Regions from separate parts of the Homo sapiens genome. Here regions 1, 2, 3, 5, 6 and 7 are each linked to region 4. The links are contacts of gene promoters, found by promoter capture Hi-C in blood cells and fetal thymus (Javierre and others, 2016). All regions are on one chromosome and are shown on one strand. The core of a region is centred on a gene start or on the middle of the fragment in contact, and the rest is flanking DNA. Distances in the headings are between cores, read along the strand shown. Region 1 overlaps WDR25 (WD repeat domain 25). Region 2 has its middle 31 kb from the start of DEGS2. Region 3 overlaps YY1 (YY1 transcription factor). Region 4 holds the start of SETD3 (SET domain containing 3, actin N3(tau)-histidine methyltransferase). Region 5 overlaps EVL (Enah/Vasp-like). Region 6 overlaps YY1-DT (YY1 divergent transcript). Region 7 overlaps WARS1 (tryptophanyl-tRNA synthetase 1).

Region 1 (3,054 bases), core at 478-2,977, 910 kb before region 4:
GAAATGTCGCGGCTTTCACATGGGGGAGGAGGAGTGTCAAAAAAACTTCACTTCCCACGAAGAGAAGATTCCAGCTCAGAATCTCATGGCTCTTCCCAGAGGCTCGGCAGCTCTGCTGCCAACCAGTCTAAAGCCCCACACTCCCAATCCTGGGGTAATTCAGATGATTCTGAAAGTCCTCTGGAAGGTGGGAAAGAAGAGAAGCAAATATAGTGTCCAGACTAGGAAGCATCCAAACACCTATTGTGTGTCCTCGGGCGTGTCTTCCCCTCTATGGGCCTCTATCAAATGAACCAGATGAACGCTATGCATGCACGCACATGCGCACACACACATCACCAATTCTCTCCTCACCTTCATCTAATTACCCTGGATGCACTGTTAATCATTCACTCCCCAAATACCAAAGGCCCACTACCACCACCCAAACCTCCTTCCCAGCTGCGCCTCTCATTGCCAATAGATTTGCCTCGTGCTTAGAATAAATTGCCAATCATCTGCATAATGCTCCACAACTCCTCACTCCACACATCAAATCATTTCTCAATCTCATTTTGTAAAATCCATCAAGAATAATTCTTTCAAAACTGAAATAAACCCTCACTCTGGCACTTAGAGCCATAAATCCCTTGTCTTTGAATGTGAAATAGATCACTTTCTACAAAGCACATCTAAGATATCTTAATGTAATCAGATTCACTAACAATGATAAATCAACAGGATCCTGTGATACATAAAAATGCAAATCCAAACCACCCCAGAAATCATCTCTTCTCTGTATGTCCCTTAACAGAACCACAAAATTTGGAAGCTGGGATAGAGCTTGGACACCACCTGGGTGAAGGGGATGCGCTTTTCCATCCCTTATTCTCAGAGGCAGGAGGGCAGCGTGAGTGGTGGTAGCTCTTTCTGCTCAGGCTCTGAGTCTGAAGCTTCCCTGCTTGCCTCTATCATTTACTAGCTGTGTGACCACGGACAAGTCTCTTGACCTCTCTGTGCCTCAATTTCCTCATCTGTAAAATGGGAATGAGGACAGAAGTGGCCTCTCAGGCCTGTAATGAAGAGGAGACGGAGCGTTTAGAACATGCCTAGTACATGGTAAGCACTCAGCAATGGCTAGCGCTCTCCATCCTCTCATCCATGCTTTAAATGTGACCACTTTGGGGACAGGGAACCAGCTCTCCAACACAGACCTGCCAAGTGTTCAGTACATGAAAAGGGAGTGCATGAATGGCTTGGCACAGACAATCCTCAAACTCTTTAGATTCTAAAAGTATTTATCTCAAGAACACTGAGATTGAAACGCTTTAAAAACGTGTGCATAGAGACAATGAAAAGATTCACAAAAAACAAGAGTTACAGTAAGTTGGAGGATTCTGGGTGATTTGTCTTTTCTACACTTTGTTTTATAACTAATCAAGACAGGTACAGGGGAATCAGAAACATGCTTCCTCAGCCTCTCCCTTGTCAGGCACTAGGCTGGATCTTCTCATTTCAGCTCTACAGCAACAACCTTAATTGGTGGCCATTTACCAATTATCCCCATTTTACCAGTGAGGAACTAGGGGATCAGAGAGGCTAAGTGATTTTCCCAAAGTCACACAGCTACCAAGCAGAAGATTTGGCATGGGAGCCAAGGAGTACAACAGTGGTACTGAAGGTTTGCCAATCTAATCAGGTCCCACTCTCACCACACACAAGGGCTTTAGCTAATGCCTGGGTGTAAATCAAAGCCCATCTTTTTCTTTTTTTTTCTGAGATGGAGTCTCGCTCTTTCACCCAGGCTGGAGTGCAGTGGTGCGATCTGGGCTCACTGCAAGCTCCGCCTCCTGGGTTCATGCCATTCTCCTGCCTCAGCCTCCCGAGCAGCTGGGACTACAGCCGCCCACCACCGCGCCCGGCTAATTTTTTGTATTTTTAGTAGAGACGGGGTTTCACCATGTTAGCCAAGATGGTCTCAATCTCCTGACCTCGTGATCCGCCTGCCTCGGCCTCCCAAAGTGCTGGGATTACAGGCATGAGCCACCGCGCCTGGCCTCAAAGCCCATCTTAACTGCATTAAGGCAGCAAAAAAAGACAATATTTATGTATAGCCATATTCACTGTAATACTGATTATTTTTTAAACAAAAGCAGGAAATTATAGGAAACAACATGGAAATGATGGAGCAAAGTATGAAACTTGAGACAGTTATAAAAATATATTTGGGGAAAAGTTTTTAATAAGGTAGAAAAATTCCCCTTACACGTTACAGAAGATTGGGCAGCAGAGGAAGAATTCAAAACTGCACATACTATGCAATAAGCCCAATTATGTAAACAGATAGGAATGTAGGGCCCCCGACCAGGGAGGCCCCTCATGTTAATGAGGCACTGACTTGGGGTTGGGAGTTATCAATGATTTCTGTTTCTCCTTCATACTTCATATTTCCTGCATCATTAAAGTTTTTCACAATAAGCATCTATTACATTCATGGTCAAAAATTAAAAGGTTTTTTTTCAAAGTATTTTAAGGAAGCTTGTTACTGAAAGAATTTCTAGAGCAAATTATTCTGTAAAGCAAATAAACAACATCTAATTCATATATTTTCTTTAAAAACCTTCTGTGTTTCAGAACTGCAGGTTTTCATACAGGTACAGAAGGTCCCTGGTGGGTCTTCTGTCACCCACCCAAAGGTCTTATTCCTTTGGGACTCCCTCTCAGTGCCTGGCAGAGGGTTCTGTACATGGGAGCATTCAATAACGGCTGGTTGTGTTTTTGGTTAACGCAGGCCACGTACATGTTTTCCTTCAAAAAAAGGCATCAAAGTCTGAATTTCTACCTTTACGTGCAGTGGGTGTTCAAACACGTTAAGCCAAAAGAGTTCACTGGGAGATGAAAAGAGTATATAAAAGGGTATCCGTGCTGGGATCACAGCTATGAAAAAAACAAGCACGTTCACAGACAAGGGGAGGAAGGGATCGTCAGGAAAGAGCAGCGGTGCAGAATTATGAGTCATTGTTTTATTTTACTTAATTTCTCTAGCTGTAAATTTTTCAAAACTAATAAAAGCAT
Region 2 (2,868 bases), core at 212-2,711, 710 kb before region 4:
AGAAGGTCAGCTCTAAAAGGGAAGAAAAGTCTGTCCCCAGTTATAATTCTTTTTTTTCCTTTGAGACAGAGTCTCACTATGTTGCCCAGGCTCTAGTGCAGTGGCGCAGTCTTGGCTCACTGCAAGCTCCGCCTTCCGGGTTCAAGCGATTCTCCTGCCTCAGCCTTCCGAGTAGCTGGCATTACAGGCACCTGCCACCACGTCCAGCTAATTTTTTTGTATTTTTAGTACACACGGGGTTTCACCATGTTGGCCAGGCTGGTCTCAAACTCCTGACCTCAGGTGACCCGTCCACTTCAGCCTCCCAAAGTGCTGGGATTAGAGGCATGAGCCACCGCGCCCGGCCTGTTATCATTTTATTGAGTGTAGTATTTTATATTTTATTCCTTTAGCTAGTCAAGAAAAAAAAAGGAATAAAATATAAATCCAGGAGGCAGAGGTTTTGGTAAGCCGAGGTCGCGCCACCGCACTCCAGCCTGGGCAACAGAACGAGACTCCGTCTCAAAAAAAAAAAGCAAAAAACAAAAAAGACAGCCCGAGCGCGGGGCTCACGCCTGTAATCCCAGCACTTTGGGAGGCTGAGGCGGGTGGATCGCAAGGTCAGGAGATCGAGACCATCCTGGCTAACAGGGTGAAACCCCGTCTCTACTAAAAATACAAGAAATTAGCCGGGCGTGGTGGTGCACGCCTGTAGTCCCCGCTACTCTGGAGGCTGAGGCGGAAGAATCGCTTGAACCTGGGAGGCGGAGGTTGCAGTGAGCCAAGATCGTGCCGCTGCACTTCAGCCTGGGCGACAGAGCGAGACTCCATCTCAAAGAAAAAAAAAAAAAGAATAGACTAATCCATTTGTGGGTTAATAAATTAATGGGTTAGCATGTGAGTAGAACTACATACATGCCTGAGGGCTTGATGGAAGGCCGACCTTGATTAATTAAGGTATCTGGCAGAAGAAATTTATTTCTTTCTCTTTCTTTTCTTTTCTTTTTCTTTTTTTGAGAGAGAGTCTAGCTCTGTTGCCCAGGCTGGAGTGCAGTGGCACAATCTTGGCTCACTGCAACCTCTGCCTCCTGGGCTCAAGTGATCCTCTCACCTCAGCCTCCCAGTAGCTGGGACTACAGGTACATGCCACCATGGCTGGCTAATTTTTTATATTTTTAGTAGAGACGGGGTCTTGCCATGTTGCCCAGGCTGGTATGGAACCCCTGGGCTCAAGTGATCTTCCCACCTTGGCCTCCCAAAGCGCTGGGATTATAGGCTTGAGCCACCTTGCCTGGCCAGAAGAAATTTCTAAGTGTGAAGTGAAATAAAATATAGAGACAAATCTCTAAATTGAAAAAGTTTTATTTGAAAAGCAAGAATGGCAATTTGGGGCATATAAACAGACCAGGTAGTTTTCAGTATGTCTGAAGAACAAAGAGAAGGTTGGAGGTTTTATAAAAAAGAAATATTATGCATTGTTTTAAAAGGAAGTTCATGGCTATTAGTAAAGTTTTGGGGAGCTGACAAGCTCTGGTGAGCAATGATGATGCCGCAGGTAAAACTAGTCTTAGAGTTGCACCAGGTTGTTTCAGTAACAGGTGGGTAAACTGGTGTCATGTTACAGCAGGCAGTTTCAGCAGCCAGGTTTGCAGAGAATGACATTCTTGGAGCAATGTTATGTGACCCCAGTGCTTTTTCCTCCTGGCCTCTCAACTCTGTTTTAGTTGGGTCTGACAACAGTAACCTGGTTGTATGATCAACTTTCACATTAGCAAAACAGAGATGAAGCTGCATGATGACTTATACTAATAATTCTTTTTTTTTTTTTTTGAGACAGAGTTTCGCTCTGTCGCCCATGCTAGAGTGTAGTGGCATGATCTCCGCTCACTGCAAGCTCTGCCTCCTGGGTTCACGCCATTCTCCTGCCTCAGCCTCCCAAGTAGCTGGGACTACAGGTGCCTGCCACCATGCCTGGCTAATTTTTTGTATTTTTAGTAGAGACGGGGTTTCACCGTGTTAGCCAGGATGGTCTCGATCTCCTGACCTCGTGATCTGCCCGCCTCGGCCTCCCAAAGTGCTGGGATTACAGGCATGAGCCACTGCGCCCGGCCCTTTTTTTTTTTTTTTTGAGATGAAGTTTCACTCTTGTCACCCAGGCTGGAGTGCAGTGGCGTGAATTCAGCCAGTGCCACCACACCTGGCTGATTTTTGTATTTTTAGTAGAGATGGGGCCTCACCATGGTGGCCAGGCTGGTCTTGAACTCCTGGGCTCAAGTGATCCACCTGCCTCAGCCTCTCAAAATGCTGGGACTACACGCTGGGACATGGTGCCCAGCCCTGCCTAATTTATTTTAAAAAGGAATTTATTTCTTACAGTTACAGAGGCTGAGAAGTCCCAGGTCGAGGGGCCACATCTGGTGAGGGCCTTCATGTTGGTGGGGGCTCTCTGCAGAGTCCTGAGGCAGTGCAGGGTATCACATGGTGAGGGCTGAGCATGCTAGCCCACTCTCATGATAACCCGTCAATCCAATGGCACACTAAGCCCTCATGACCCAGTCACACCCTAAATGCCCTACCTCTCAATATTGCTACATTGAGAATTAAATTCGAACATGAATTTTTTTTTTTTTTTGAGACAGAGTCTTACTCCATCACTCAGGCTGGAGTGCAGTGGCGAGATCTTGGCTCACTGGAACCTCCGCCTCCCCGGCTCAAGTGGTTCTCCTGCCTCAGGCTCCTGAGTAGCTGGGATTACAGGTGCCCACCACCATGCCCGGTTAATTTTAGTGTTTTTAGTAGAGGTGGGGTTTCACCATGCTCACCAGGCTAGTTTTGAACTTCTGACCTCAAATGATCTGCCCACCTCGGGCTCCTAAAGTGCCGGGATTA
Region 3 (3,143 bases), core at 356-2,855, 790 kb before region 4:
CCAGAGCCCCGGCAACCCTTCTAAGCGACTCCCCAGGAGAAGTTTTGTTTCTCACCAAGGAGTAATAAGACCCTGAGTCTCTGGGCTGGCGCCTCCTGCCTCATCACCACACCACCTACACTTGCAGTGTTCAGACAGGCAAGGCAGTGTGGGGAAGAGAGGGAACTGGCTCTACCTGAAAGGGCTTCTCTCCAGTATGAACCAGTTGGTGTCGTTTTAGTTTTGAACTCTCAACAAAAGCTTTGCCACATTCTGCACAGACGTGGACTCTGGGACCGTGGGTGTGCAGATGTTTTCTCATGGCCGAGTTATCCCTGAACATCTTTGTGCAGCCCTTAAAACAGAGAAAGCAGCTTAGAAGTTCACATTGCAAACTGTTAGAAAGGATTCAACCATTTAACAGCCTTTACTGACATATTAAAACAAAACCACCTCCCCAACCCCCCATTTTAATTTTACTTAGTATTACGGTAGAACATTAATATCATTTAAGACAAAAAGCAGACAGCTGAAAAAGTCATCATTCAATGCAAACCCTAGTTTTACAGATGAGGAAACTGAGGCTTAGAGATGTCTTTAAGTAGACTTGCCCAAGGTCACACTACTAGTAGTAGCCAAACTGGGAATAGAACCCAACACCCTGGCTTCCAGCTCTACCACAGCCACCTCACCCGACTATGTCCCCCAAAATGAAGTAACAGAAGCACTGCTAAGCAAATGGAGTTAAAATGACGGTAGTCCACCACTACCTTTGGTGGCCCCATATTCTGTGCTGCAACAATGGACTGTCATTCTCCATCGCCTACTGTTCCCTCTTCTCTCTTTGCCTCTTTCCCCTTCTTGACAGAGAAAGAAGCAAGAGGGTCTCCAAGGAATGGCAACTACAGAAGAAATTTATTTTGTGAGACACTAGGAAAAGGAAGAAGCAGGCAAATTGATACCAGTGCAGGGCGGGAAAGGCAGATGGATGTGTGGCGCTCGAGAAGCATGTCCTCAACAATTTCTTCTGCAGTTGTTGCCCAGTAATGGAGTGAATGGGGAAATGATAAGACAGCATGACAGAAGGACAGCACAAGTCACTAGACAGCTCACAGGCAGAAGGGAGAGGGAAGCCCCAGTTTTTCCGCCTTTACCCCTAGGTTGAATTTCCATTTAGAAAATGGAAATTTAAAAAATTTAACTGGTACACAATGTATACATGCATTGAAACATCACACGGTACCCCATAAATATGTACAAGTATTATGTGTCCATTATAAAGAAAACTTCAGAGAAGCTAAAGGGATGGCATAGGCACTTCCAGCCTAACTGTTTTCAAATGCTTGTTATTTCGGCCCTAATGGAGATACGTTTACATTTCAAATCGCCACATCAAGAACGCTGACAAAGAACAGGAAGGACTTGCTAGTGCACAGTCATTACAGGGAAGAGACCGTGAAACTAAATGTAGCCTGCTCCGATTGTTCATTTTTAACATTCTTTATTCCACTCAATCTCTCCTACTTTGTTCTCTGTACCTATGTGATACTTGATTTTTCTGTTAGTCTCATATCCAATTAAGTTTGAAAATAGCCCCCAACAAATATCTCAAAAGTACTTTTCAGGTTATCCTTTTATTTTAAAGACTAACTACATTTGAAAACAATTAAGTGCCTCTCTAATCACACACAATTATTAAGTCTTTATTTGGCTTATTTTAGCAACATCCAAAATAATTTTCAAATTTCAGTTACAAGCCTACATTCCCATAAAGGTCAATAGGTGAGACACAACCCAGGATCTTAAGACGGACTTGTTAATATAATCCAAAAAGAAATGAAACGCTAACAGTAGAGTCAACACACAGTAATCAAGCAACGGCTCCCTGCAGTCATCCCATTTAACAGTATTTAAAAAGTTGCCTTTACTAAATAACAAAACTTCATCTCTTGGATTTAGAAACCGAAGATTCTAATTCCTTGCTTCATTTAAATTATCACAAGCAGAAACAAAAGTGCAAATTTCTTATAACTCTCTAAAACTTCATCAACAGTTTAATGAACACTCTCCCTCTAGCATTACTTACTTTATGAGGGCAAGCTATTGTTCTTGGAGCATCATCTTCTTTAATTTTTCTTGGCTTCATTCTTATCAAAAGAAAAAGAGAGACAGACAGATTTGTAGGAGTGGGTAGACTCAACTGGCATAAATCATATAGTCCCTAAAATGCTTTCCTTATAGGTACCCAAACTAAAATTATGATACATTTCCATGAAGCAGAAAGGATGAGACAACTTGCATTCACTAAGTACCAATGACTGTGAAGCACTCTTCCCATCTTACAGATAAGGATGCTCAGGCTAGAAACATCGAGTTGCCGCCTACAGTCTCATAGCTAATAAGCTGGTGCAGCTTAGAATGGCACTATGATCTGTGTGATTCACATACCTGTTCTTAACTCCAAACCCTTTAAAAAAACACAAAAAATCAACTCAGACAATCAGATGAATCTCCTTGTGAGAGGCAAGGGAAGATTTCCAAAGGCAGCTGCTGCGATGATGAAGGTGCCTTATGAAAAAGAAGCGGTGAACACAGGAGTGTCCTAAAATATCCATCTCTATACACGAAATGGGTCCAATTAGTACTGACACGAATGATCTTTAAAATATATCATTTTAAAGGGTACAGAAGAGTCCTTTTAAATCAAGATTTATAGATATTAAATATCAAATATCTCTGGAAGGACACACGACAAACCATTAGCACCAGTTACTTTGGGGAGAGAGCTCCTAGGGCCTGGTGGACAGATGGGAACACCACATACTCTCATACTGTTACCCTACTTCTGGATGGGGGCTTGGAAGTTCTCATTTGTACCAAGAGTCCTGGTAATGTGGTAACCGTCTGGCAGAGCCCCAGGTGAAATTACTGTCCAGAGAGCCTCCTGGTTTGGTAACTTACCTACCTGCTTCTCCACTGAATCAAGCTTTGGACTTTTGTCAAAACTTTCTCTCCAAATATTCCCTATAGATCTGTGTGTGGTAGGGGGGTGAGAAATTAAGCGTTCCTAAAAAAACTAGAGAATAAATTTAAATCTCGGAAACAGATTTTCTTTTTGTCCCTAGTTTTACCCCTCTCACACCCCTCCATGATGGTTCATATTT
Region 4 (2,995 bases), core at 469-2,968:
CAGCGGTGGTCACTCTGAATAAGACAATCTTGGATAATTATTATATTCATAGTCAAGATTATTTAACAGGTAAGCATCCTAAGGGCACTTTAATCCAAATGTCTATCAATACTACTACCACTACCATCATCCATCCATTCTTTCATTCAGCAATACAGAGGGCTTATTAAACGTCAGGCAGTGTTCTAGGCGCTGAAAGCTCCTCGCTTTCATTCTAGCAACATCATTCATACAAACCTTTAGCGGGCACCTACAACTGCAAGGCATTGTGCTAGGTATCTGTAAACAGCGATTTAGATCGAGATACACAAACATCACCAAGTTTCTCTTAAAAACACAGAAGACCACCCTTAAGAAATGCTCTTAGAAATAGTTCCTAACCTCAGATGACTTAGCGAAAGCTCCGTTTAACTGGCAGTCTAAATTTAGGGAGCATTACCGAGCCTATCTTGGGCAGACAATCGTTTAGGAGCTGTCACATAACCTCTAGACTTACGCTCCAATTTTCTAAAGAACAATTTCTCTCATAACAAACCAAATCAACCACCAGGAGCGGGTCCGTAAAGACGATGTCTGGGCAAGAACGAAATCTAATCCCGGAAGTGCCTTTTCCTCATCTTAGCCGCACCCTCGTTACGTGGCTCTCCAAAACTCCAAAGTCGGAGTACCCTAGACATGGAACAACCTCCAAAAAGTTTCAGGCCTAGCCAAGGTTGGGACTAATACGCCGCGAAATAATCGGGGAGATATGAGAAGTCTGTGGCTGTGAGACTGTGCGCGGTTAACACCGCTGCCCCTTTTGCCCAACCCCTAGAAAGTTCCCCAACTCTGACTGCCCCCCAGTGCGAGGGCCGCTACCAGTTCTAGGGTGAGTCCGGCCTCCCTGCCCCGCCCCGGCGCCTCAGACCCTCTCTACACGCCCGCCCCACAACCCCGCGTCGCCCGCAAAGTTCAATGTGTACCGGAGGTTAGCGGAGGGAGGCAGAATCCGGAAAGAGAGACTCCGCCAGTGGATAGCGGCGGTTGGCCATAACCTACTCCGACCTCCAGATACGCGGGAGGTGGGCGGCGCTGCCCTCAGTCGGTGGGTCACTCACCCCTCGCTTCAGGCAAGCCCCTCAGCGACGTCTCTCCTTGCCGACTGCGGCCATCTTGTATATGGAATGTCGGGGACCTACGTCATCACGCTGCGTCCTGAGACGCCACCAAGCGACCGGAGGGGCGGAGAGAGTAGGATGCCTGTCAACCAATGGGAAGAAAGCAGAGCTCTCAAAAGAGGAACGAGCCGCCGCTCTCCTCCCCGCCCGCCCCGCGGGTCAGTGGCTGCTGCTTACAGAGGGAGGAGCCAGCCACAGGGCCCATCCCGTCGGTCCCGCCCCTCGGGGCGAAAAGGCATTCTGGAGCAACCGAACCTGCTAACGGAACTTGGGCGCGTAGGCGGGGCCCGGGTCGAGATTCGTCCAATCAAAGCTCTGGCGGGGGCGAACGCAGCCAGTTGCGACATCGTGGTTGGCGGCGGCTGAGCCGGCCGCTCTTGCCCCCGGGAGCTGCCAGCCCACTGGCTGGGGAGGACCCCGAACGGAACGCCGGCTGGGTGGCGGGGCGGGGCCGCGCCCATGCGTCCGAAGCGTGGGCCAATGAACGGCGGCGGCTGCGGCCCGGGGGCGGGGTCCGGGGCGGGAGGAGAAGCGTTGGGCCGCGGTCGCGGGGCCGTCTCAGGCTGCCGTCCCGCCCCTCCCGTCCGGCCGCCGCCGCCGCCACCGCCGCCACCGCCTGGGGGTTGGTTGAGGCGGACGGCGGGGTCCGGGCCGGAGTACGTCGTTCCCGCTGCGCTAGGGGAAGCGGGCAGGTGAGTGCTGGCGGCGGTCTCTGCGCCCGCGCGGCCCGCGGGGGAAACTCGCGCCGCGTCTCCGAGCTCTGCGAGGCCGTCCCTCGCCCTGGCCAGCGCCCCTCGGCCGAAGTCCGGCCCGCGCCCCCGCCAGGGTCCCCGCCGGCCGCTGTGGCCCCGGGGCTTGAAGGGGCAGGTGTGCGCTCGGGGGCCAGGGCGAGGAGGGCCCGGCGGGGTCGGAGGGCGCCGGTCGGCCTCTGCCCGGGCGCCCTGCGGGGCGAGAGGCGCGCGCTCGCCGCTGCCCTGTCCCCTCTGGCGCCCACGCTCCCGGGCCCCGCGCCACCCGGTCTCGAGGTGGTGCCAGGTGCAGGCAGCGCTCTCCCCGAGCTTGCCCCGCTGTCCCCGGCCCTCGCGCCTGCTCTCGGGTGGGGCCCGGGCCCCTCGCGCTAGTCGGCTCGGCTCTGCGCGCGGCCGGGTCGCGCTCCCATTTCCTTCCTTCCTCCCGTCACCCCGCTGCTCGGGGAAGGCTGTGCGGTTTTATGTTCCTCTCTGCGAGTTCTCGGTGCCCACCAGGGTGCCCGGGGACCAGCCCCCGCCTCCTCCCGCGCCGTCCAGTTAGGAAGACGGACGTAGGAAATAGGTCGTCTTTCTTCCCACGCGCCCCTGGCCGTGCTCCACACGCGCAGTGCCCTACTAGGGAGAGGCAATTCGGTGCTTTAGAGTTTGTCATTCCGGCGTTAACTCTTCCTCCTCGTGGCTCCAGCCCGGCGATGCAACTCTTGTCTTTTCCCGGTCTCCACTTGGGAAAAGGAGCTGACAGTGACGCGCGCCCCTGGCTGCGGGGCTCACCCCTGCCCGGCCGGTGTTGGGAGGAGGGCATTTCAGTGTTGCAAAGGCATTCGCGGGTTAGGACCACTCGGACCGTGTTATTTTGCTTTTCTAAATAAATAAGGTGATGTTTCAAAAGCAAAAATACTTTTAAAGTATGCTGACAAATCAATTTTGCTTTTAAGAATCCTCGAAGAGTTACCCCATCTTCGTAGCCTGATTGTGGTGCTGATGAGGCCACTATAAATGCGTTTGTCAGAACTCAGAACCGGACACTGAAAAGTGTGAATTTTATCTTATGTAAAATATACCTCTCCCTCTCCCGTTTTTCTTCTTGAA
Region 5 (3,073 bases), core at 503-3,002, 590 kb before region 4:
TCGGGAGGCTGAGGCAGGAGAACTGCTTGAACCCAGGAGGCACAGGGAGGTGTAGGATGCACTGAGCGGAGATAGCTCCAATGCACTCCAGCCTGAGCGACAGAGGGAGACTCCGATGCAACAACAACAAAAAAGTTACCCAATTTTTACAAAATGTTTCTGATTTTTTGGGATGTAGGATCTGCTCATGGATTACATTTGATCGAGCCGTCTGCTTACTCCCTTTCAAGCTAAGCTAGGATGTGAAACTATTTAAAAATTTTTCATTGATAAAGATGTTGTGTGTGTGAAGAATTCAGGCCAACTGAATGTAGACTGTAGGTTGGTTAAGAGGTGACTGCCAGATCTCCAATGGAAAGCTATATTTTCCCCTTAGTAATTATTAAATCATTTATAGGGTGCCATTTTTTTTTCTTAATGGGCACAGGTGTGAAACAGGTTTCATGCTATGAAGTAGACTTAAAATGTTTATTGTGAAGTACTTCAGGCCTGTGAGAAGTAGGTTCCCACGATCCCACCACACAGTCTAGGAAATCTGACAGCAAGTCATAAAGCTGTTTAGTTCAAGTGACGCCTGCATCCTCCTCCCAGACCCAGAGCCCCTCCTCTCTACCAGGGGGAACCGCCACCTTGCAGGTGGTATTTTCAATTCCATGCTTGCTGTCTGTAGTGCAGCCATACAACTGACTATTTTACACACATAGTTCTCAAACTTTTTTGGTCAAGAGAACCCCTTTACACTCAATTATTGAGGATGCCAAAAAGCTTCTGTTTTATGTAGGTTAAGTCTATCCATATTCACCTTATTTGAAATTAAAACTAATAATTTTTTAAAACACAAGAATATACAAGCAGACATTTCATTAGCTGCCACAGTGATGATGTCAAAACATCACATAGCTCTGGAAAATTCCACCATGAATTCATGAGACAAGAGCTGAAATGGCAAATGATGTCTTAGTAATATTATAAATACAGTTCTGATCTACAGACTCCTAGGAGGGTCAATCTCTGGAGTACATTTTGAGAACTGCTGCATTACAGCAATGAAAGACAATGAATTAGCTCTCTGCATATTAACATGGGAAACCCAAATGGTGACTGAGCCCCATTTTTGAGAGTGTTAGAATTAAAGAAAGGCTTTGGGTAAATAAAGTCTACATTCAGTGTTAAACCCTGACACCTTCTTTTCTATCCAAATTGGTTGCCCACATCATGGGCAATCAAGACGTTTGCCTTTTCTCCTTGGATGTCACCCTCTCAGATGCCTGGACAGCTGGTCTCCATTACTCTGTGAAGTCTGGTGCAATCTGGAAAAACACTCCAACCAACTGTTGGGGGAGTCTGACATTCCTAGACTGACCCTGTCTCATATGCATCTCCCATACTCTTTCAAGGCCACCGGCGTAGCCCTTTCTTTGGGGAGCCATCTGACAGCCACGTGGACGTTAAGGCTACTCAAACCTCAAAAACATTTATATATTTTGCTCTGTGTCTTCATCTCAAAATTTGTGTCCCCAGAGTCTGTGACTCTGATCACTTGTGAAGTGGAACAGGTTTTAGCACAGCCTTGGGACAACTGTAGAGGCCTGGCTTGGGCCAAGGATTGGGACAGTATGTTCAGCTCCAAGGATGAATCAACAGCCTGGGAATGAAGACCCCGGCTCTGCCCTTACAAACACCCCTGAAGACACAAGTAGCCACTTGGACTCTGTGCTATTTACTAGGCACAGGGACAAACATGAATGCATAACACAAGCGTCCTGCTCTGAAAGAGCTCTAGGCTGGTAGGAGAGATCCTGAGCCGACAGAGCATCGACAAGAGATACGCACGCAGGCACGGGGTGCTACAGGACAGACGAGGTCTCTTTTGTCTCTTGTGGTATTAACAGCACAGAATGACGGAGACTGCAAAATAGAGATCAGGAGGGCCTCGATTCTACCCTTGACTCTGCAAATTGGGACAAGTTTAGCTTTGAGAAGTTAAAGCTGAGAGGGCAGATTTTGATCCTCTCAGAGATCAAAAGCTCCGTCAAGTGACAACAATGTGACCTGGAATACGATACTTTGTAGGCCCTTGTTTTCTTTTCTTTTTGAGGTAGGGTCTTGCTCTGTCACCAGGGTGGAGTGCAGTAGTGTGATCACAGCTCACTGCAGGCTTGAACTGCTGGGCTCAAGCAATCCTCCCACCTCAGCCTCCTGAGAAGTTGGGACTATAGGCTTCAGGCATGCACTATCACATCTGGCTAATTTTCATTTTTTAATTTTATTTTCTTTCTTTCTTTTTTTTTTTTTTTTTAAGAGAGGAGGTCTTACTATGATGCCTAGGCTGGTCTTGAACTCCTCAGCTCAGGTGATCTACCTGCGTTGGCCTCTCAAAGTGTTGGGATTACAGGAGTGAGCCACCATACCCGGCCAACCCTTGTTTTCTTATCTGTAAAGTGGCAATAGTGATACCAGACCTCAAAGGATGAGAATTAAATAGTATGTATATCATGTAACTAGCGTAATGGTTGGTGTATAACACTGAGAAAAGCTGAGCTGTTGTTATTTTCCTCCTCTGTGGGTTCAGTTACCAAAGCAAAGCCATTGGACTACACTAGTTCTCATCCATTTTCTGCCCCAGCCCACCTGAGTATCGTAACATTCTCATGAGAATAACCTAGAATCTCCAGAGGAATGTTTCTCAACTAGAGGCACATGGGATTCTTTGAGACAGAGGAAGGCAGAGAAGCTTCAGAAGCTCTCCAAATGATTTGGCTACAGGTCTCTAGGGAAGTGCGGGTTCCCATGGAGAGTGAACGGACTACGTGATCTCTGAGGGCTTGTTCAATTGCCTCTGGGACTCTCTGACTTGCCCGTGAGGACTGGAAATACCTGTGAGAAAGGAAACACCAGGTGTTCCTGGAGACTCCTCCAAACCCTCACACAAAGGCGTACAATTAGGTGCGAAGGATTGTAAGCTGAACCCCGGCTGTGCGAGACTTCTTATATCTTTACAGCTTCAAGATGTGCAGCACAGTGGAATAAACAGTAATGACTGTGCCCAAGCAGCCACAGCTCCTTCACTACC
Region 6 (3,039 bases), core at 440-2,939, 750 kb before region 4:
TCTCCTTTATTGATTACAGGGAGGCTATTAAATCTGATTCAGCTATATCTCTAACAGATTGGGATTGATTCAAGTCATGAACTCATGCTAAATAATTTTCCTTATCAGAACTAATTTGGCTGCCTCATGAAATTGCTTTGTGGTTCTAATGTTTAGTTCTTTTGCAGTTCCTTCAAGTAGGAAGGAAATAGGTGCTCTGCATCAGTTACAGTATTGAGACTGTTAGAGCCAGATGGGGCATCTAGTCCACATTTCATTTTGCAGACAAGGAAACTACCTAGGAGATGTGCTCAACGTCACATGGCGGTGTGGTAAAAAGGTAGTGATTGAGGTGAAAAGCGAGAGCTTGACTTTCCTGCCTTTTGTGAGACTGCAAAACCTATGTAAGTTTCAGTAGTGTGATCCTGTTCCAATTCACATCCACGCCCAGTTTTCAATGAAATGTTTACAAAAATCAGAATGAAAATTTTTGTGCATGCATCCAAATTAGTTACCCCTAGTTTGGATCCAAGTTAAATGAAAAACTAGGTATGTACATGTTCTTAACTGTCTAAACTATAGATACCTTCTTGGTTGTGGAGTCTTTGAAACCTGAGCTATTAAAGGGATACTTTCCCACCAAATCAATGCATATATTAGATTTGGAGTTTAAATTATGGTGAAATACCCTGTGTTTGTTTGTTTTTTTTTTTTTAGACAGGGTCTCACTGTGTCACCCATGCTGGAATGCAGTGGTGTGATCTCTGCTTGCTGCAACCTCTGTCTTCTGGGCTCAAGTGATTCTCCTGACTCAGCCTCCTGAGTAGCTAGGATTATAGGTGCATACCACCATGCCCTGATAATTTTCTTATTTTTAGTAGAGACGGGGTTTCACCATGTTGCCCAGGCTGGTCTCAAACTCCTAAGCTCAAGCAATCCACCTGCCTTGGCCTCCCAAAGTGCTGGGATTACAGGCATAAGCCATTGTACCCGACCCCTAACTATATACTATATATGTTTATATGGGGTTTTTTTGTTGTTTTTTTGAGATGAAATCTCACTCTGCCACCCAGGCTGGAGTACAGTGGCACAATCTTGGTTCACTGCAACCTCCGCCTCCCGGGTTCAAGCAATTCTCCTGCCTCAGCCTCCCAAGTAGCTGGGATTACAGGCACGCACCACCACGCCCTGCTATTTCGTTTTTATTTTTAGTAGAGACAGGCTTTCATCATGTTGGCCAGGCTGGTCTTGAACTCCTGATGTCAAGTGATCCACCGGCCTTGGCCTCCCAAAGTGCTGGGATTACAGGCACCATCCACCGCACCCAGCCTCCTAACTATATGTTAATAGGTGAAATCTCACGTCTATAAAGCTGGCACCCTTTATGTAGTATTTTATGTCCTTTTATAAGACCTTAATTAAATTCTTTTTCTTAGGCCAAGTGGTTTATTACAATGATTGAACCTGATTATTGCCCATAAATATAAAGAAAGTTGAAATCTTTAGTAATAGATTAGCCTCTGTTTTTCTCTGCTTTGCTAGTATAACGTCCCTCCAAAGAAGAAGCTAAATCAACTTAATTGTACTGAAGTTGCTCCTACTGCCCACCCATCCCAACAAATATGGAATGCACAATTAAACAGAATGGAATTTTTTTTTTTTTTTTTGAGACAGGGTCTCACTCATTGCCCAGGCTGGAGTGCAGTGGCAGGATCTCAGTTCACTGTAGCGTCAACCTCCCCAGCTCAAGAGATCCTCCCTCCTCAGCCCTCCAAGTAGTTTGGACTACAGGCATGCATCATCACACCCAGCTATTTTTTGTAGAGACAGGGTTTTGCCAAATTGCCCAGGCTGGTCTTGAACTCCTGAGCTCGAGGGATCTGCTCGTATCAGCCTCCTAGAGTGCTGGGATTACAGGCGTGAGCCTGGCCAGAAATTCTTTAATCCATGGTAACGTCCTTTTTTTTTTTTTTTTTTTTTTTTCTGAGACAGAGTTTTGCTCTGTCGCCCAGGCTAGAGTGCAGTGGCGCGATCTCAGCTCACAGCAAGCTCCACCTCCCGGGTTCACGCCATTCTCCTGCCTCAGCCTTCCGAGTAGCTGGGACTACAGGAGCCCGCCACTGCACTTGGCTAATTTTTTGTATTTTTAGCAGAGACGGGGTTTCACCGTGTTAGCCAGGGTGGTCTCGATCTCCTGACCTCATGATCCACCCGCCTCGGCCTCCCAAAGTGCTGGAATTACAGGCGTGAGCCACCGTGCCCGGCCAATCCACGATAACTTTCATAGCCACACTGGTTTTCACAGAAGCACATTTATTGCAGTGTGGAAAATACAGGAAGTCGATTCAGGTATTTGTGTGTGTGAGGCAGGTGAGCGTGGTGGAGTGGGAAGAGCTTATGTGATTTGGGAGTTAACTTGTCCTCTCTGTGAAACTGGGCAGTAACCTTTCTGATAGGAATTTTTTTCTGTTTGTCAGAAAGGAGTGACGCCCCACAGGGAGTTAGGTGAGACCAGCTGTTCAGTCACCATTTACCTCGCACTTGCAGTGCAAGGCCCAAAGGATAGATATAGCTGTGAACAAGAACAAGACAAGCAAGCCTGGCTTCACAGAGTCTACAGGCCAGAGGGACTTCGGCTGTGAACAGATAGTTCAAAAATACATATCTAAAAAATTTCTTTTTCTTTTGAGACAGAGTCTCTCTCTGTCGCCTAGGCTGGAGTGCTGTGGCACAATCTCAGCTCACTGCAACCTCTGCCTCCCGGGTTCAAGCGATTCTCCTGCCTCAGCCTGCTGAGTAGCTGGAACTACAGTCATACGCCACCACACTCGGCTAATTTTTTTGTATTTTTAGTAGAGATGGGGTTTCACCATGTTGGCCAGGCCGGTCTGGAACTCCTGACCTCAAGTGATCAACCTGCCTCGGCCTCCCAAAGTGCTAGGATTACAGGCATGAGCCACCGCGCCCAGCCCATACCTAATATTCATTTATAGAAGTCCTACAAAGAAGTGAGAGTTTGGGGACAGAGAATCTAGCCTAGCCTCGCAAGGTAAAGGCCTT
Region 7 (3,070 bases), core at 250-2,749, 880 kb before region 4:
AATACGCATCTTTAACTAGAACATAAGCATTTCATTTCCTTCTGGGGTGACTCCACTCCGGCTTCTCCATGACTTCCATCACTTTTTTTTTTTTTTTTTTTTTGAGGCTGAGTCTCACTCTGTCGCCCAGGCTGGAGTGCACTGGCACAGTCTTGGCTCACTACAACCTCTGCCTCCTGAGTTCGAGCGATTCTCCTGCCCTGGCCTCGTAAGTAGCTGGGACTGCAGGCGCCCGCCACCACACCCGGCTAATTTTTGTATTTTTAGTAGAGAGGGGGTCTTGCCATGTTGGCCAGGCTAATCTTGAACTCCTGATCTCAGGTGATCCGCCCGCCTCAGCCTCCCAAAGTACTGGGATGACAGGTGTGAGCCACCACGCCCGGCCCGACTTCCGACACTTTTAACTCCTGTTATCTGTTATCTTTTCAAACACCTTGCTTGTCACCAGATTGTGTCAACCATCTCACATTCCCCAGTAGTTTACTTTGACTATTTGGGACCCTGATTTAAATCATTATTTGTGTGTGTGTGTGTGTGTGTGTGTGTGTGTGTGTGTGTATTTTTTGAGACAGGGTCTCGCTCTTTCCACGTTGGAGTGCAGTGGTGCAATCCTAGCTCAGTGCACCCTCAAACTCCTGGGCTCCCACCTTAGCCTGCCAAGTTGCTGGAATTATAGATGCAAGCCACTGCACCCAGCTCATATTTTAAATGAAATAAATAGTACTGAAAGAAAGTAATGTCAAAAAAAAGTTACTTTTTTACAGAAAGAGATTTACTCACCAGGTAGGCCTCAAACGATTAAACCAAGTTGTTTTAAAACAAAATTATAAAATAAATAAAAGACCCAGTGGGGTTATGTAAGCCCATCATTTTGGGAAGTTGACAGTGGTATTTTTGTCCATTTAATATTAAATTTGAATAACATTTAGTAAATGTTTTTAGTTAGTAATTCTTAGTGACTGCAGTTATGTTCATTATTTTAGTCAACTTAATACATTTTATAATAACTCTTCCAAGTGTATTATTTGACTAATGCAATTGGCTGGCACACGTTGAAGACATCAGAGGTTGCACAATGAGACCAGAGTTAAGTGGTGAAAAATTCAGAAGTACATTTGTATCTGACCCTGAAATGTCTTGGTAGTAGAAGCACTTGATGTTTTGGAAATTTTAAAAATTAACTTTTAGCAAAATAGTGTGAGCCACATTGGGAGTGCCAGTTCTAAGAGAGGGCACCTTGAGCTCTTTCTTCTCCTGCCATTTATCTAGGCCATGGACCTTGAAGGTCTTTTCTGCTCCAGTGTATCTAAAGAATAAGATCCACATCCTTCAGTAGCAGCAGCTCATTAAAGCGGCAAGTTTCCTAGGGGGAAATAAGTCAGCATCTGAGGGCTGTGAGGGGAAATAGTTTGAGCAGGACTAAAGAAGCAATGCTAGGTCTTAGGTATTAAGAAAGAGAGCAGAGCCTTTTTCTTCTTCTCCTTTTTGTTTAAGTAACTTCTAAAATCAAAATATACCATTCATATAGAAAAACATGCTGATCATAAGCACAAGCAGGCACCTCACTGAATTTTCACAAAATGACCACACCTGTGTAACCAGCACCCAAATCAACAGCAAGCAGAGAGCACCTAGAAGCCACCCTCACGCGCCTCAGCCTCTGCCATGACTCCTCCCACCAGGGGTAGCTCTACCTGGGTTTGAACTGTATGTAATACAGTCTTGTGTCTGGCTTTTTTTTCTGAACATCAGCTTTTGGCGAGGCTCCGTGGCTCATGCCTATAATCCCAGCACTTAGGAGGCCAAGGCAGGAGGATCGCTTCAGGCCAAGAGTTTGGGACCAGCCTGGATAATATAGTGAGACCCTGTCTCTACAAAAAATTTAAAAATTAGCCAGACATGGTGGCACACACCTGCAGTCCCAGCTACTCAGGAGACTGAAGTGAGACCCTGTCTAAAAAAAACTGATGTTCTGGGTTTTTTGTGGGGTGGGGATCTCACTTCATCACCCAGGTTGGAGTGCAGTGGTGCAATCTCGGCTCACTGCAACCTCTGCCTCCCTGGCTCAAGCAATCCTCTGACTTCAGCCTCCCGATGAGCTAGGAACACAGGTGTGTGCCACCACACCTGGCTAATTTTTTCTATTTTTGGTAGAGACAGGGTTTTGCCATGTTGCCTAGGGTGGTCTCGAACTTATGAGCTCAGGCGATCCGCCCGCCTTGGCCTCCCAAAGTGCTGGGATTACAGGTGTGAGCCACTGCACCCAGCTAACATCAGCTTTTGAATCCTGTTTCAGTGTCCTGGTTCAGACACTGATTAAGACTGATTATAAGAAAATAGACAAGGTAAGCCTGCTTGTCTTATTTTGGTGCTATTCCAAAATGCAGATGGTCCTTGAGCAGGGACATTGGTTAAATGTTTGACTTTCGCAGAGCCTCCTAGTTACAAGCAGAATTAGACCAGATAGAGTATGAAATGTCAACAAAGCTAGTTATTAAGTGATATTGACTGCAGTGTACTTCAAAGCAAGGTAAGCCTTCCCATAGATAATTGGATAGATTATACGTACTAAACTGTTATTTTTTGCAAGTACTGAGCCTAGGTACTACAGAAATGAGATGGGTGGAACATACTTAACTATCTAACCTGGGCAAACATCTCATCTATGAATCGTATCCATTGGGTTACTGATTCCACAAATCTGGCTCATTTTAATGATGAGTCTCAGATAATTTTGTAGTTTGAAACACAGATTACTCCAGAATCACAGTCCTTTATGGCCCAAGTGCTATATCTGATGGAATAGTTATCTCTGAATGGAGGTTGGTGTTTATAGAACATTCTGTATATGGTAAAAGGAATTTAAGGAGATTTAAAAGAAAGAATGTTCTGTATAAACTGTAAGTGGAAATGTTTGTATTTCCCTTGGTAAGCAAATTGGGCTGTGTATATTCTTTGTTTGTGATCTAATCCAGCAAGGCCAATTACCAGAATAGAGCTTTAGGGCATAGCATGACTAATCAGCTTAATTAGGCCTGCTTTTCTAAACACCAGGCTTCCAGGGGTGGCC

The links. Contacts are between HindIII fragments. The CHiCAGO score rates a contact against its expected background, and 5 or more counts as called.
Region 1: a contact is called between a fragment that was not itself captured here and the fragment with the promoter of SETD3 in region 4, in 3 of 17 cell types (naive B cells, neutrophils and monocytes). The highest score is 5.7, in naive B cells.
Region 2: a fragment that was not itself captured here is called in contact with the fragment with the promoter of SETD3 in region 4 in 1 of 17 cell types (neutrophils); the score reaches 7.3 in neutrophils.
Region 3: a fragment that was not itself captured here is called in contact with the fragment with the promoter of SETD3 in region 4 in 1 of 17 cell types (neutrophils); the score reaches 5.3 in neutrophils.
Region 5: a fragment that was not itself captured here is called in contact with the fragment with the promoter of SETD3 in region 4 in 3 of 17 cell types (M1 macrophages, total B cells and M0 macrophages); the score reaches 6.6 in M1 macrophages.
Region 6: a contact is called between a fragment that was not itself captured here and the fragment with the promoter of SETD3 in region 4, in 1 of 17 cell types (neutrophils). The highest score is 5.7, in neutrophils.
Region 7: a fragment that was not itself captured here is called in contact with the fragment with the promoter of SETD3 in region 4 in 1 of 17 cell types (neutrophils); the score reaches 6.6 in neutrophils.

The regions. Positions count from the first base shown.
Region 1 is chr14:100,385,595-100,388,648 of GRCh38, reverse strand. All of the region lies in intron 2 of WDR25 (WD repeat domain 25), which reads right to left. Among named protein-coding and RNA genes, the nearest start is that of WDR25, 11 kb to the right of the region's middle. The HindIII fragment of the contact is 1,585 bases long and covers 935-2,519 here.
Region 2 is chr14:100,189,039-100,191,906 of GRCh38, reverse strand. No RefSeq gene overlaps it. Among named protein-coding and RNA genes, the nearest start is that of DEGS2, 31 kb to the right of the region's middle. The HindIII fragment of the contact is 4,292 bases long and covers 1-2,868 here.
Region 3 is chr14:100,273,681-100,276,823 of GRCh38, reverse strand. It overlaps YY1 (YY1 transcription factor), which reads right to left. Exons shown (of 5, transcript NM_003403.5): 3 at 2,066-2,126; 4 at 176-334. Among named protein-coding and RNA genes, the nearest start is that of MIR6764, 2.1 kb to the left of the region's middle. The HindIII fragment of the contact is 2,725 bases long and covers 243-2,967 here.
Region 4 is chr14:99,479,582-99,482,576 of GRCh38, reverse strand. SETD3 (SET domain containing 3, actin N3(tau)-histidine methyltransferase) reads left to right here and starts at 1,718. Exons shown (of 13, transcript NM_032233.3): 1 at 1,718-1,849. CCNK (cyclin K) reads right to left here and starts at 1,168. Exons shown (of 11, transcript NM_001099402.2): 1 at 1,098-1,168. RefSeq lists enhancers at 908-1,277, 2,086-2,587 and silencers at 1,468-1,927, 2,038-2,237. The HindIII fragment of the contact is 7,554 bases long and covers 1-2,995 here.
Region 5 is chr14:100,069,289-100,072,361 of GRCh38, reverse strand. All of the region lies in intron 1 of EVL (Enah/Vasp-like), which reads right to left. Among named protein-coding and RNA genes, the nearest start is that of EVL, 5.4 kb to the right of the region's middle. RefSeq lists an enhancer at 2,790-3,073. The HindIII fragment of the contact is 1,969 bases long and covers 768-2,736 here.
Region 6 is chr14:100,231,957-100,234,995 of GRCh38, reverse strand. The region is part of intron 1 of YY1-DT (YY1 divergent transcript); the gene reads left to right. Among named protein-coding and RNA genes, the nearest start is that of YY1-DT, 5.1 kb to the left of the region's middle. RefSeq lists enhancers at 1,670-2,170, 2,171-2,671. The HindIII fragment of the contact is 5,151 bases long and covers 1-3,039 here.
Region 7 is chr14:100,362,613-100,365,682 of GRCh38, reverse strand. All of the region lies in intron 2 of WARS1 (tryptophanyl-tRNA synthetase 1), which reads left to right. Among named protein-coding and RNA genes, the nearest start is that of WARS1, 11 kb to the left of the region's middle. The HindIII fragment of the contact is 5,176 bases long and covers 1-3,070 here.